2 separate regions of the Homo sapiens genome follow, and region 1 is linked to region 2. Evidence: promoter capture Hi-C in 16 types of primary human blood cells and fetal thymus (Javierre and others, 2016). All regions are on one chromosome and are shown on one strand. The core of a region is centred on a gene start or on the middle of the fragment in contact, and the rest is flanking DNA. Distances in the headings are between cores, read along the strand shown.

Region 1 (6,328 bases), core at 2,345-4,844, 120 kb before region 2:
TACTTAGTAATGTTCTCTTCAAAATGCTGCAGTGATTCCTGGAACACATGGGAGCTGGAGATTACTTTTCTCTTGCCTGTTATACAATGATGTCCGTGACAAACCTAGGATATGTCCAGTTTGTAGAACATACCCTAATACTGAATACTGTTTCCCCACTTGGGTTTCAAATTTAGCATGCTACAATGCTAAAACTACCAATTTGGGTCAATTATGTTCCCCAAATATCATCTTTGCAAATATTTTTCCAATCATATTGGCTTTCAACTATGCCTGTAGGAAGAATAAGCTTTTTCTCATCAGCTGTAGAAATCGTATTTTTTTGTCACAGATATGAAAGGAAATAAAAAGGTTTTTTTCATCAACAGCTATAAATAATAAAAAAAGAAAATAGTGTTGATGATTTTACAGGTGTATGAGTTCTGCATGCTGTGTTTTCTACCTTAATTCTGACTGGCCTATGATTTTATTTGCAAGTATATCATTACAAAAATATGCAAATGGTGTTTCACATTGGACAAACCACATTTTAAATAATCTTTTATAATTCCCCAAAAGTGCAATTGCTTTCTTTATAGAATAGATTCAAGCCAGGCACAGTGGCTCATGCCTATAATCCCAGCACTTTGGGAGGCCAGAGTGATAGGATTTCTTGAGGCCAGGAGTTTGAGACTAGCCAGGGCAATATAATGAGAACTCATTTTTACAAAAAATACAAAAATTAGCCAGATGTGGTGGCACACACCTGTAATCCCTCCTATTTGGATGGCTGAGGCAGGTGGATCGCTTGAACCTAGGAGTTTGATACCAACCTGGGCAACAAAGACAGACCCCCATCTCTCCAAAATTACATACTAATTTACAACGATCAGGGGGCTGGAATACATTTAAGAGCTACAATTGAATATCTAATAATTATTATTAATACTGATTGTTATTGCTTATGGGCGAGATATGTAATGGGTAGCCAGTTCCTTGGCTGGTTAATATTGTTTGCAGGGTTAAAGAGTCAGAAAATGTTACTGTCAAAAAAAGGTGGATTTACCAGATCATTCGAACTAAAAGGGGCCCGAGAGGCCATGAAATCGAATGCCTTCATTTTACATAGAGCTTTATTTAGATAGATATTCACCTAGACAGACATGCACCTGAGGTCCACAGCAGGGTGTCTGCCCTTGTGACACAGGAAGCCATGTGCAGAGGTGGGATTCCCAGCCTAAGGCTACTTCCTTTCACCTGAAGGTGCTCGTGACACCAAAGGTGACTTCTCAGGGTCTCCATTTTCTCTTCAGTGAAACCATGATCTTCATATGTATTCCCTGTGATAACTTCTATTTACAGACCTTACATGGCCACAAGGGTAGTTTTTCCTCAAGGGAGACATTCATAGCCTTGTCTTTTTAGCTTGATGATGTGAAGACCATCAAAACATCTAAATTTCCGCAGGCTTAAGACTATGGTTCATGATGCTTTCATTTCTTGATTTTTCTCCAAAACCCTAAAAAACACCTCGTACATGGTAGGTGTTCAATACATCTCTGTTAAACGGAAGGTAAGACGTGATCTGAACCCAACTATCACTCAGTGAAACGTGTATGTCAATTTCACATGCTTTCGGTTCCTAGGAAAGTAAGTGCAAAGTGACTCAGGAGGCTTCAGATAACTCACAGCAGTGTTAAATGGCCGGTTCAAGGTTTCTTTATCAAGCAGGTGGGAAAATAATGTTTCTCTGCTCTTCATATGCCTTCGCAGAAAAGCTAGTGAAATGTATAGAATATTTCACCAGCTTCTAATGTGACATTAACAGAAGCTGTGGTAACTTGTTAGTAGACAGAAAATAATTCTGAAACATAAAGATGCCATCATTGACATATTTCATTATTAAATAAGACAGCTGACTTATACGGGACTCAAAAAAGGGAATATGAGGTCCCCTTCCTTTAAAACAAAACTCTGCAATGTGCAAATTCATGTGTACTAAACTTTATATTGGAAGGAAAATGTCAGAGAGAGGAATCTGACATCTGGTCACTGTTTTTCTATTTTTAAAAGTGTCTATATTTTGAAAGCTTTATTTACTGGCCTTGTACAAACAAAATGAAGATATTGAAACATCTTTAGTTGCTGCTTTTCCTGCAATTATCACAGAAAGCCTCTTTAGGTGCTGAATAATGTAGTGTCAGGCTATCCAATTTTCCTCTTGTATCTTATTAAAAAAAAAAAAAAATGCCAGCCAGGCACGGTGGCTCATGCCTGTAATTCCAGCACTTTGGAAGGCCGAGGTGGACGAATCAGGAAGTCAGGAGTTCGAGACCAGCCTGGACAACATAATGAAACCACGTCTCTACTAAAAATACAAAAAATTAGCTGGGCGTGGTGGCACACCTGTAATCCTAACTACTCAGGAGGCTGAGGCAGGAGAACTGCTTGAATCCGGGAGGCGGAGGTTGCAGCGAGCTGAGATCGCGCCACTGCACAACAGCCCAGGCCACAGCGCGAGACTCCGAGACTCCATCTCAAAACAAAAAACAAAAAACCCTGCCAAATACCTTGACTGTGCATGTCTTTGAGTTTGTTCCTGGGAAACAGTTAACATTCTCAAATACATAGTCTCTACTCTCTTGGATTTGTTTCCTCTGGCTTAATGGACAGGAACTATTTTTAGTTTAAAAGTGGTATGCTCTTCATTGAACATATTTATAGCAATGTATGTTTATAAGTTGAAATTAGGAAGGCAAACTATATAACCATTAATAAAGTATCTTAGGACTTACATGGCATAATTTTACCAGCTCTCTAAATAATTTTTAAAAAGCTTTTCTGCCAGGCGTGGTGGCTCATGCCTGTAATCCCAGCACTTTGGGAGGCAGGGGCGGGCGGATCACGAGGTCAGGAGATCGAGACCACCCTGGCTAACACGGTAAAAGCCCATCTCTACTAAAAATACAAAAAGTTAGCCTGACATGGTGACATGCGCCTGTAGTCCCAGCTACTCGGGAGACTGAGGCAGGAGAATAGCTTGAACCTGGGAGGTGAAGGTTGCAGTGAGCCAAGATGGCACCCTTGCACTCCAGTCTGGGTGACAGAGCGAGACTCCATCTCAAAAAAAGAAAAAAAAAAACTTTTCAAGGGCTTGGCTCACATATTAACTGTTATGTATTAAGTACATGCCATAGCGCTGGTTAGATTTTTTAGAGAAGGAATGGGGCCACATTAAAAGGAGAGAAGCAGATTTCAGAGTCAGAAAGTTCTGGGATTGTATTCTGCCCCTGCCACCTGCTGTGTGTGACTTTAGGTATGTGATTCATTCTTCCTACATTTCTTTTCTTTTCTTTTTTTTTTTTGAGACGATGTCTCGCTCTGTTGCCCAGGCTGGAGTGCAATGGCATAATCTCAGCTCACTGCAACCTCCACCTCCCGGGTTCAAGCAGTTCTCCTGCCTCAGCCTCCTGAGTAGCTGGGATTACATTCATGTACCCCCACGCTTGGCTAATTTTTGTATTTTTAGTAGAGAGAGGGTTTCACCATGTTGGCCAGCCTGCTCTCAAGCTCCTGGACTCTAGTGATACACCTGCCTCAGCCTTCCAAAGTGCTGGGATTATAGGTGTGAGCCACTGAGCCTGGCCCTCAATGTCCCTAAGTTTCAATTTCCTCATTGGAAATGGGAATAATAATGTCTATATTAACGTTAACAAACATTCATTGACTGTTAATGTATGACAGGCGCTAGTCTAAGCGTTTACATTTTTTTTTCTTTTTTTTTGAGACGGAGTCTCGCTCTGTCGCCCAGGCTGGAGTGCAGTGGCATGATCTCAGCTCACTGCAAGCTCCGCCTCCCGAGATCACGCCATTCTCCTGCCTCAGCCTCCAGAGTAGCTGTGACTACAGGCGCCCGCCACCACGCCTGGAGAATTTTTTGTATTTTTAGTGGAGACGGGGTTTCACCGTGTTAGCCAGGATACTCTCAATCTCCCGACCTCGTGATCCGCCCGCCTCGGCCTCCCAAAGTGCTGGGATTACAAGCGTGAGCCACTGCGCCCGGCCAGCATTTACATTTTAAAACCCATTTGTTCCTCACACCAACCCCATGACCTAGGTGATAGTATCCTAATTAACAGGTGAGGACATTAACGCATAGGGTGACTAAGTAAACTGTTCCAAGTCGCAGGGCTGGTAAGCCAGTACTTGAGTCTGGGAGAAGTATTCACCTCCCCATGAAGGAGTATTTCTCACATAGCATTAAGTGCTATTATTATCATTAGGATTAATATTAAAATATAAATAGTTTAGGAGAAAGCTAATATCCTACCCAAGGGTCCAGCCCAGTTGAAACTCTCCCTTCTCAAAAAAGCACTTCATGAGCACTAAGCTTGAAAGAGCAGCACCTTTCTTCTGAGCGCTGCAGCATCTAATACAAAAAACACCCATATCCCACCTATCCTGGACCAGATGGGGTACCTTTTCTTGTGTGTATGCATAAGTCTGCATGTACATACATATATGCTTATACGTTTACATATATACACACATTTATATATCTAATCTTCTCAGCAAGTTTCAGAGATTCCTTAGGGCTCTGGTAACATCATATTACTTTATAACCACTACAATATCTTAACAGAGTACCTTGGAGAAGTAGAAATTCAATAAATATAAAATATTTCATTAGAATAGCCTTCACTAACTAACAATTCTTTTCCTTACAAGTTTCCTAGAAAAGAAGGTGCTAGCTATGGAAGACAAGCACATCATCCAACTACAGTCAATAAAAGAAGAGAAAGATCAGCTACAGGTGTTAGTATCCAAGCAAAATTCCATCATTGAAGAACTAGAAAAAAAAATAGTGACTGCCACGGTGAATAATTCAGTTCTTCAGAAGCAGCAACATGATCTCATGGAGACAGTTAATAACTTACTGACTATGATGTCCACATCAAACTGTAAGTTTACATATCATGCTTTCTTCAGCGTTAATAACCTTTAGTCAGTAAAACACTCAAAAGACTAAAAAATTCTCACCTTTCAGAAAAGGCGCTATTTCTCATATATTTCATATGAAATATCTACCAATTAAAATGAAGGAAGAAGAGAAGGGGAAATATATGTTATACTAATTATTATGAAGCAAACACCCCAAGCATACTTTTGATTCATGGCAGTAAAGAGCCTACTTTTAGTTAGTTCCATCATTAATTAGAAGGATGAGACTGGGCAAATTACTAAACCACAGCCGATATTCATTTATTTAGGTTTTACATGGGAAAAATAATATCAGACCCATGGGATGGCCATTAAGATTAAATGAGATAATACAATGGCACTTAAGAGATGCTAGTTCCCTTATCTTGCCAGGTTCTTAAGCACATTTTGCCTTCCTTATTATTGTTTCACTTTGCAGCGTCTCTTATATATTGGAGGGAAGGGCCAGGTGTGGTGGATCACGCCTCTAATTGCAGCACTTTGGGAGGCTGAGGCAGGCAGATCACTTGAGGACAGGAGTTGGAGACCAGCGTGGCCAACATGGTGAAATCCTGTCTCTACTAAAAATACAAAAATTAGCTGGGCTTGGTGGTGGGCACCTGAAATCCCAGCTGCTTGGGAGGCTGAGGTAGGAGAATCACTTAAACCTGGGAGGAGGAGGATGCGGTAAGCTGAGATGTGTCACTGCACCCCACTATGTCCTCAGTGGGATAATGGCCTGAAGGGGCAGGCAATGGGGTCATGATACAGATAACAGTGTTTAGGGACATTCTTTTTAAATTCTTCCATACTAAGTTTACCCTATTCTGCTCAAGATGAAAGATCTTCAAAAGTAATAATTTAATTTATGTGATTGTGAAGTACTTTCATTACATGTAATTGATCATCAGCAAAGGAAGTTTGGATTATTTGAAGTATTTTAATTACATGGAATTAATGACCAAAAAGTAAGTATTAATCTTTTGAGAATTAAGAAGAAAACAGGCTGAAAGGAAACTTTCTAGAAAGGTTAAAAAAGTGGTACAGCCTTTTGCTTACTTAAGAATTCCAAAGTAATAAAACTCACCAAATGATTGGCTCTTGAAATAACAAGTCTTTGTCTTTTCATGAACTCCGTTTAAATGCCTTACTATTTTTTAAAAGCAGCTAAGGACCCCACTGTTGCTAAAGAAGAACAAATCAGCTTCAGAGACTGTGCTGAAGTATTCAAATCAGGACACACCACGAATGGCATCTACACGTTAACATTCCCTAATTCTACAGAAGAGATCAAGGTGAGGTATTCGTCTCCCCTTACTAACTCCCTGGCTCTAGGCAGGCCACTTTAGTGAGTGAGGAACCAGAGAGC
Region 2 (5,987 bases), core at 1-2,500:
CTTAAAAATGTAAAAGACATTCTTAGCTCGTAGACCCTTACAAAAACAGGCAGCAGGCTAGATATGGCCTGGGGGGCATAGTGAGTGGACCCCTGTTCTAGTGGATATCCTCTTCTCAAAACCTGATGTTTAAAAGCATTTTCCAGGTGTGCCGTTGGTCAATGATTGGGGGTAACGCTAAAAGAAAACCAGGTTAATTTAACAAAATACTAACATTAGAAAAATAGCCACATCTGATTACAGACTTTGTATAAAGCCTCTAGTCTTTACTTTTGGCTATGAGGTTTTATGACTCCAGGCCCCACAATACAGGCCCCTTTTTTCTCACGGTCAAACTCTACAAGACACGTGTCCGCTATTCCCCTCTCCTGGGCTCTTCCAGGTGCACAGAGGGTGGGACTGCGTGCGGTATCATATACTGGTTAGGACAGCAGCTCCGGTCTAAGGCCCTGTCAGCACTGACTAGCCACACACAGGGAGAGTCACCTAAACGTCCGATGCCTTAGTTTCTGCCTGTAAAATGATATAAGAGAGTTGATAGAGCGGTTAAAAAAATCAGACAATACCATACTAGCCTAAGCACAGCGCCTGGCACACAAAGACTCCGCAGTAAAAGGCGGCTCCTATTATTGGAACAATTAGCATAGAAACTCAACTGCCGCTCCTCCAGGTGGGCCTCAGAGGGGGTCGAACAGGACCAGACCCAGGAGGGCCCCACACCAACTTCCGGAGGGCAGGACTCTGCCTGCCAGTGAGCCCCAGATCCAGGGACTAAGGCAGCAGGGGTGAAAGCAGGTAGGGGGAAAGGCGGGATTTGGGGGACAGGCAGCATGGGGGAGGGAGCAGGCAGCGGGGGATTGAGGGGAACTAGCAGCACGGGGGTTGGGGCACAAGCAGTACGGGGGAGGAAGCAGGCAGTCGGGGGTTTGGGGGGACAGGGAGCACGGGAGACGAAGCAGGCAGCCGGGGGTTTTGGGGGGACAGGCAGCGGGGGAGAGAGCAGGAGCAGGGGGTTTTGGTGGGACAGGCAGCGGGGGAGGAAGGAGGCGGCAGGGGGTCTGGGGGAGACAGGCAGCGAGGGAGGGGCGAGCGGGGCTCCTCCCACGGGATCCCCCGAGTGCGCCCGCGACGAGGGGTGCCGGTCCTCAAACTCCCGCTGCTGGAGCAGGCAGCAGGAAGTACCTCACCTTTCAGGATGGGGGCCGCCATGACAGACGGCGGGATCCGGCCAGCTGGCCTACGCGGTGCTTGCGAGCCTGGCGGCGCGCGCGGGCACTGGGCATGCGCGGGGTGAGCGCGCCGCCGTCACCGCGCTCCGCTGAATCCGCGTTTCCGGGATTTCTCTGTAGGTGAGGCGGGAGGCTGGAGGGAGCTGAGCCCCCGGGGAGGGGGCCCGATTCCGCCTCGCCGCGCCTCTGGCTGCTGGGCCGTGGGTTTTTCTCTTCTCCTGGGAGTAAGGAGGACGACGGCCCCTAACCCCTGAATTAGCCTTCTATTTCCATTAGTGACTTAGAAGCTACCCGGCGCCTCATCTGGGCTCACCTGAGCTGAGGATCAGGAAGGGGAGGGGGCACAGTCATTCCCTCGCGGACGCGGCGGGACCCCAGCGGACGGCTTTGTGCGGACTTTCGGCACCGTTATGCCCCCCTAGCCCGACACCACCTGGGGCTGGCGCGCCACGTTACTGTTCAGGGCCAGACGCACCGCCCTGCCTGCTCCGGGGAGCCGGACCTCCGATCCCGGGGATGGGGGACCCCGAGACCTCAGACCCAACGGAGGGGACTCTGATACCTCAGACCCCACGCGGGGACCCCGAGGCTTCAGACCCCCACAGGGTGACCCCGAGATCTCAGACCCCCGCAGGAGTACCTCCAGACCTCAAATCCCCAGTAAGGGAATGAAAGAGACTTCGGATCCCTGAGGCAGCAAATCCCTGTAGGGGCATCCCAGGACTCAGGTCACCGCGGGGTGAACCCAGACCTCACATTCAGGCAATCCCCAGGACGCCGATCGGCTGGCACTACCCACTGTCCCGGCCACCCCCCCTGGAGCTCAAAGGCTTGGCCCTCCAGCTGCTCCACCCTGCCGGCAACCAGGCTCAAACCTGCAGCCCGCGGATCCCCTGCCCCGGAAGCAACCAGATTCGCGGGAGGTTACCTGACTGATCCAAGGTGATACAGCTGGTAACTGATGGAGATGTTGGTAGTGAAATTCATGTACTTTTAGTTCTTTCTATGGAATCTAGAGGTAGAATACATGTAAAAGAATATCGACTACCGTCTACTCAGGTCTCTGTTTTATCTGTTTATTCATTCACTCTCAGCTTTTAATAGGATCCAATGAGCCCTCTGTGGTTCTGAAGAATTGCCTTGAGTATATGCAGCCTCAAAAAACCCACTTCCTAGGCTCAGTCTTTGATCAATATTTATCATTATCACCAGTTATTGTTCTAATAAACTCTACTCTGGAAATATGGTGTTATGGTTTACTTGGGAGTGTGAGTTCAGGGCATCATTGAAGACTCACGTACTTTTACTGAGAAAGTGACATTGATCTCTGTAGATTTTGAATTAAATGATATGATGAAGTATATAAACCAATTACTTTTGGTCAAGGTGGTAAAAAAAGTTTAGTATTTGATAGATTCTTCATCTCCACGATCACAAATATTTTCTCCTAGGATTTCTTCTAGAAATATTACTGCTTTAGGTTGTATATCAGGTCTAGGTTCTACTTTTTTTTTTTTTTTTCTCCAGGCAGTTTCTCACTCCGTTGCCCAGGCTGGAATGCAGTGGTGTAATCACAGCTCACTGCAGCCTCAACCTACTGGACTCAAAGGATAAGATCTGCTTTTAATTAATTTTTGTATACGGTATGGGATAGGGACCAAAGTTCATTTTTTTGCATGTATACATATCCAAATGTTCCAGCATCATTTATTAAAAAGTTATTTTTGTCTCTACTGCATTTCCTTTGTGCTTACATCAAAATCTGTGTTGCATATGTATGTGTTTCATTTTAGGCTTCCTATTGTGTTCCATTGAGCTATTTGTCTTTTTGCTGCCAGCACCATGCTGTTTTGATTATTGTAGCTATATAAATAAGTGATGAAATCAGATAGTTTATGTCCTACAACTTTATTTTTCAAGGTTATTTTGTATCTTCTAGATTCTTCAGATTTCCTTTTAAATCTTAGAGTCGACTTCTCATTTTGCACAAAAAAATACTGCTGGGATTTTGATTGAGATTGTGTTGACTCTACAGATGAATTTGGGGAGAATTGACATTTTAACCATATTGAATCTTCTGACCCATTAACATTTAGGTCTTTTAAAATTTCTCTGGCCAGACGCAGTGGCTCACGCCTGCCACTTTGGGAGGCCAAGGCGGGCCGATCACAAGGTCAGGAGATTGAGACCATCCTGGCTAACACAGTGAAACCCCATCTCTACTAAAAATACAAAAAATTAGCCGGGCGTGGTGGCATGCGCCTGTAGCCCCAGCTACTTGGAAGGCTGAGGCAGGAGAATGGCATGAACCCGGGAGACAGAGCTTGCAGTGAGCAGAGATCTTGCCACTGCACTCCACCTGGGGCAACAGAGCGAGACTCCATCTCAAAAAAAAAAAATATAACTGTTGTTAGATTTTAACCTAAGTATTTGTTTTTTTATTTTGTTTTTCTTTTTTTCTTCTTTTTTTTTTTTTTTTTTTTTTGAGACAGGATCTCACTCTGTCTCCCAGGCTGAAGTGCAATGGTGTGATCATGGCTCATCTTGAAGCCTCGACCCTCCTGGGATCAAGCTATCCTCCCACCTCAACCTCCTGAGTAGCTGGGACTACAAGTACACATGACCATGCCCAATTCATTTTTTAAATTCTTTGTAGAGGCGGAGTCCCACTATGTTGCCCAGGCTGGTCTTGAACTCCTGGGCTCAAGCAATCCTCCCACCTCAGCTTCCCAAAGTGTAGGGATTACAGGCATGAGCCACTGTGCAAGGTCTTGTGTTTTTTGATAATATCGTAAATGGTGATTTTTTCATTTGTTTCTGATTGTTGCTAATATATGGAAATATAGTTGATATCTGCAATTGATCTCATGTCCTGAAAACTTGCTAAATCTGCTTAATAATTTTTTGTACATTCAAAATGATGTTCTACAGGTAGTCGTATTGTCTATGTTGGAAGGAAAGCTTTTCCTCATTCAATGTCGGTCCTGTGTTTGAAGACCTGCAAATTAACTGATAACAACAGGTTAACAGGAGAAAAGACAAGGTTTAGAGTAACTCACTAAATAGAAATAAAGGTTTATAGATCCACTTAACAAAATGTGTTGGGAGATTTTGGAGTTTCAGTAGGAAGTTGTGGAAGGTTCTTTTGGGCTTTTGGATGCTTATGAGAATGGGCAATCTGTCTCTACAGTAGTGGAATTTACAGGAAACTTCCTCAGAGGGAGGCCAATGGCAGCTGTATTTTCTGGGGGCTCTGCTTTAGTGAAATAAGGGAAGTTCAAATAAAATTTCTTGATGCGTCTTTCTTAGATCAAATATTTTCACAGTAAAATAATCTTTATACCAACTTTTAGGGCCTGAATGGTCCACACATTTCTCCATCTGAAACTTCCCTAGAAATTTCATTAACAAAAAAAAGAAGCTAAGTTGATTGCTGTGGGGAGATGATTTGAGTTAGAAATTGTAAGATGAGAGATCTGTAAAAGGGGGAAAAACATAGATTAGAACAAGGAAACAAAAACAATGATTAATGTTCAGAGCAGACGATAAACCCAGTCTAGAGGGTAAGCCAGTTATGAAATTTTCTAGATGTTGGGCTCCAGCTATCTTTAGTGAGGATGGTAGTGGTAGGTAGTGTTGCCATCATGGTTATTTCCTAGAGCACAGTCTGGAAGATGCAGGTGTTCTGGGGAAATATTTGAAAGACCCACGTGTTGTGATAAGTCTTTTGAAGTTTCTGTCTAGCCATCCAGCTTCAGCTTGCAAGGCTTTGAGAAGGAATCAGTTTTAGTTCTCAGTGACGTCAAGTCAGTAGAGTGGGAGGAAAATTGGAAATACTGATTACTGACAAAATATGTAAGATGGCAGGATCCAGGTTTTGTTTTGTTTTTTGTTTTGTTTGTTTGTTTTTGAGACTGAGTATCACTCTTGTTGCCCAGGCTGGAATGCAGTGGTGCAATCTCGGCTCACTGCAACCTCCACCTCCCAGATTCAAGCGATTCTCCTGCCTCAGCCTCCCAAGTAGCTGGGATTGTGGGCTAATTTTGTATTTGTAGTAGAGATGGGGTTTCTCCATGTTGGTCATGGCTGGTCTCGAACTCCCGACCTCAGGTGATTCCCCGGCCTCGGCCTCCCAGAGTGCTGGGATTACGGGCGTGAGCCACCGTGCCTGACCGGCAGGATCCAGCTTTTAAAGAGGTAAAAAAATTGCTCAAAGACAATGAACAAGACTAGAGTCTGATAACTCACACAACTGGGTTATAGTTTGCCATTGAAACATAAAATTTCTCTGTATAATTACTACCACTGAGATCAAAGATAAACAAAGTAAGATTACTCTTGTTTACAAAATAAGTCTTGTCTCATTAAATTTGGCCTGATCATTTACATAAGTCCAGCAAGAATGATAATTGACCACAGGAGCCTTTTTAGGTTTGCTTGGCTGGAACTTTTATAAGGAATCTCAGATTAGAGTTTTAAGACTACACCTACACAGCCAGGCGTGGTGGGTCACGCCTGTAATCCCAGCACTTTGGGAGGCTGAGGCGGGTGGATCACAAGGTCAGGAGTTCAAGACCATCCTGCCTAACCCGGTGAAACCCCGTCTTTACTAAAAATACAAAAAAATTAGCCGGGCGTAGTGGCGGGTGCCTGTAGTCCCAGCTACTCGGGAGGCTGAGGCAGGAGAATGGCATGAACCTGGGCGGCAGAGTTTGCAGTGAACCGAGATTGCACCACTGCATTCCAGCCTGGGGGACA

The links. The method cuts DNA at HindIII sites, captures the fragments that hold promoters and counts their contacts. A CHiCAGO score of 5 or more calls a contact.
Region 1: a contact is called between a fragment that was not itself captured here and the fragment with the promoter of MCPH1 in region 2, in 4 of 17 cell types (activated CD4 T cells, total B cells, total CD8 T cells and 1 more). The highest score is 5.6, in activated CD4 T cells.

Annotation. Positions count from the first base shown.
Region 1 is chr8:6,519,790-6,526,117 of GRCh38, reverse strand. The region is part of intron 12 of MCPH1 (microcephalin 1); the gene reads right to left. It overlaps ANGPT2 (angiopoietin 2), which reads left to right. Exons shown (of 9, transcript NM_001118887.2): 4 at 4,708-4,940; 5 at 6,127-6,254. Among named protein-coding and RNA genes, the nearest start is that of ANGPT2, 40 kb to the left of the region's middle. The HindIII fragment of the contact is 1,554 bases long and covers 2,818-4,371 here.
Region 2 is chr8:6,401,890-6,407,876 of GRCh38, reverse strand. MCPH1 (microcephalin 1) reads right to left here and starts at 1,250. Exons shown (of 14, transcript NM_024596.5): 1 at 1,188-1,250. The coding sequence starts at 1,209. It overlaps MCPH1-DT (MCPH1 divergent transcript), which reads left to right and starts at 1,329. Exons shown (of 2, transcript NR_040040.1): 1 at 1,329-2,171; 2 at 2,757-4,321. RefSeq lists silencers at 989-1,168, 1,429-1,508. The HindIII fragment of the contact is 9,682 bases long and covers 1-4,192 here.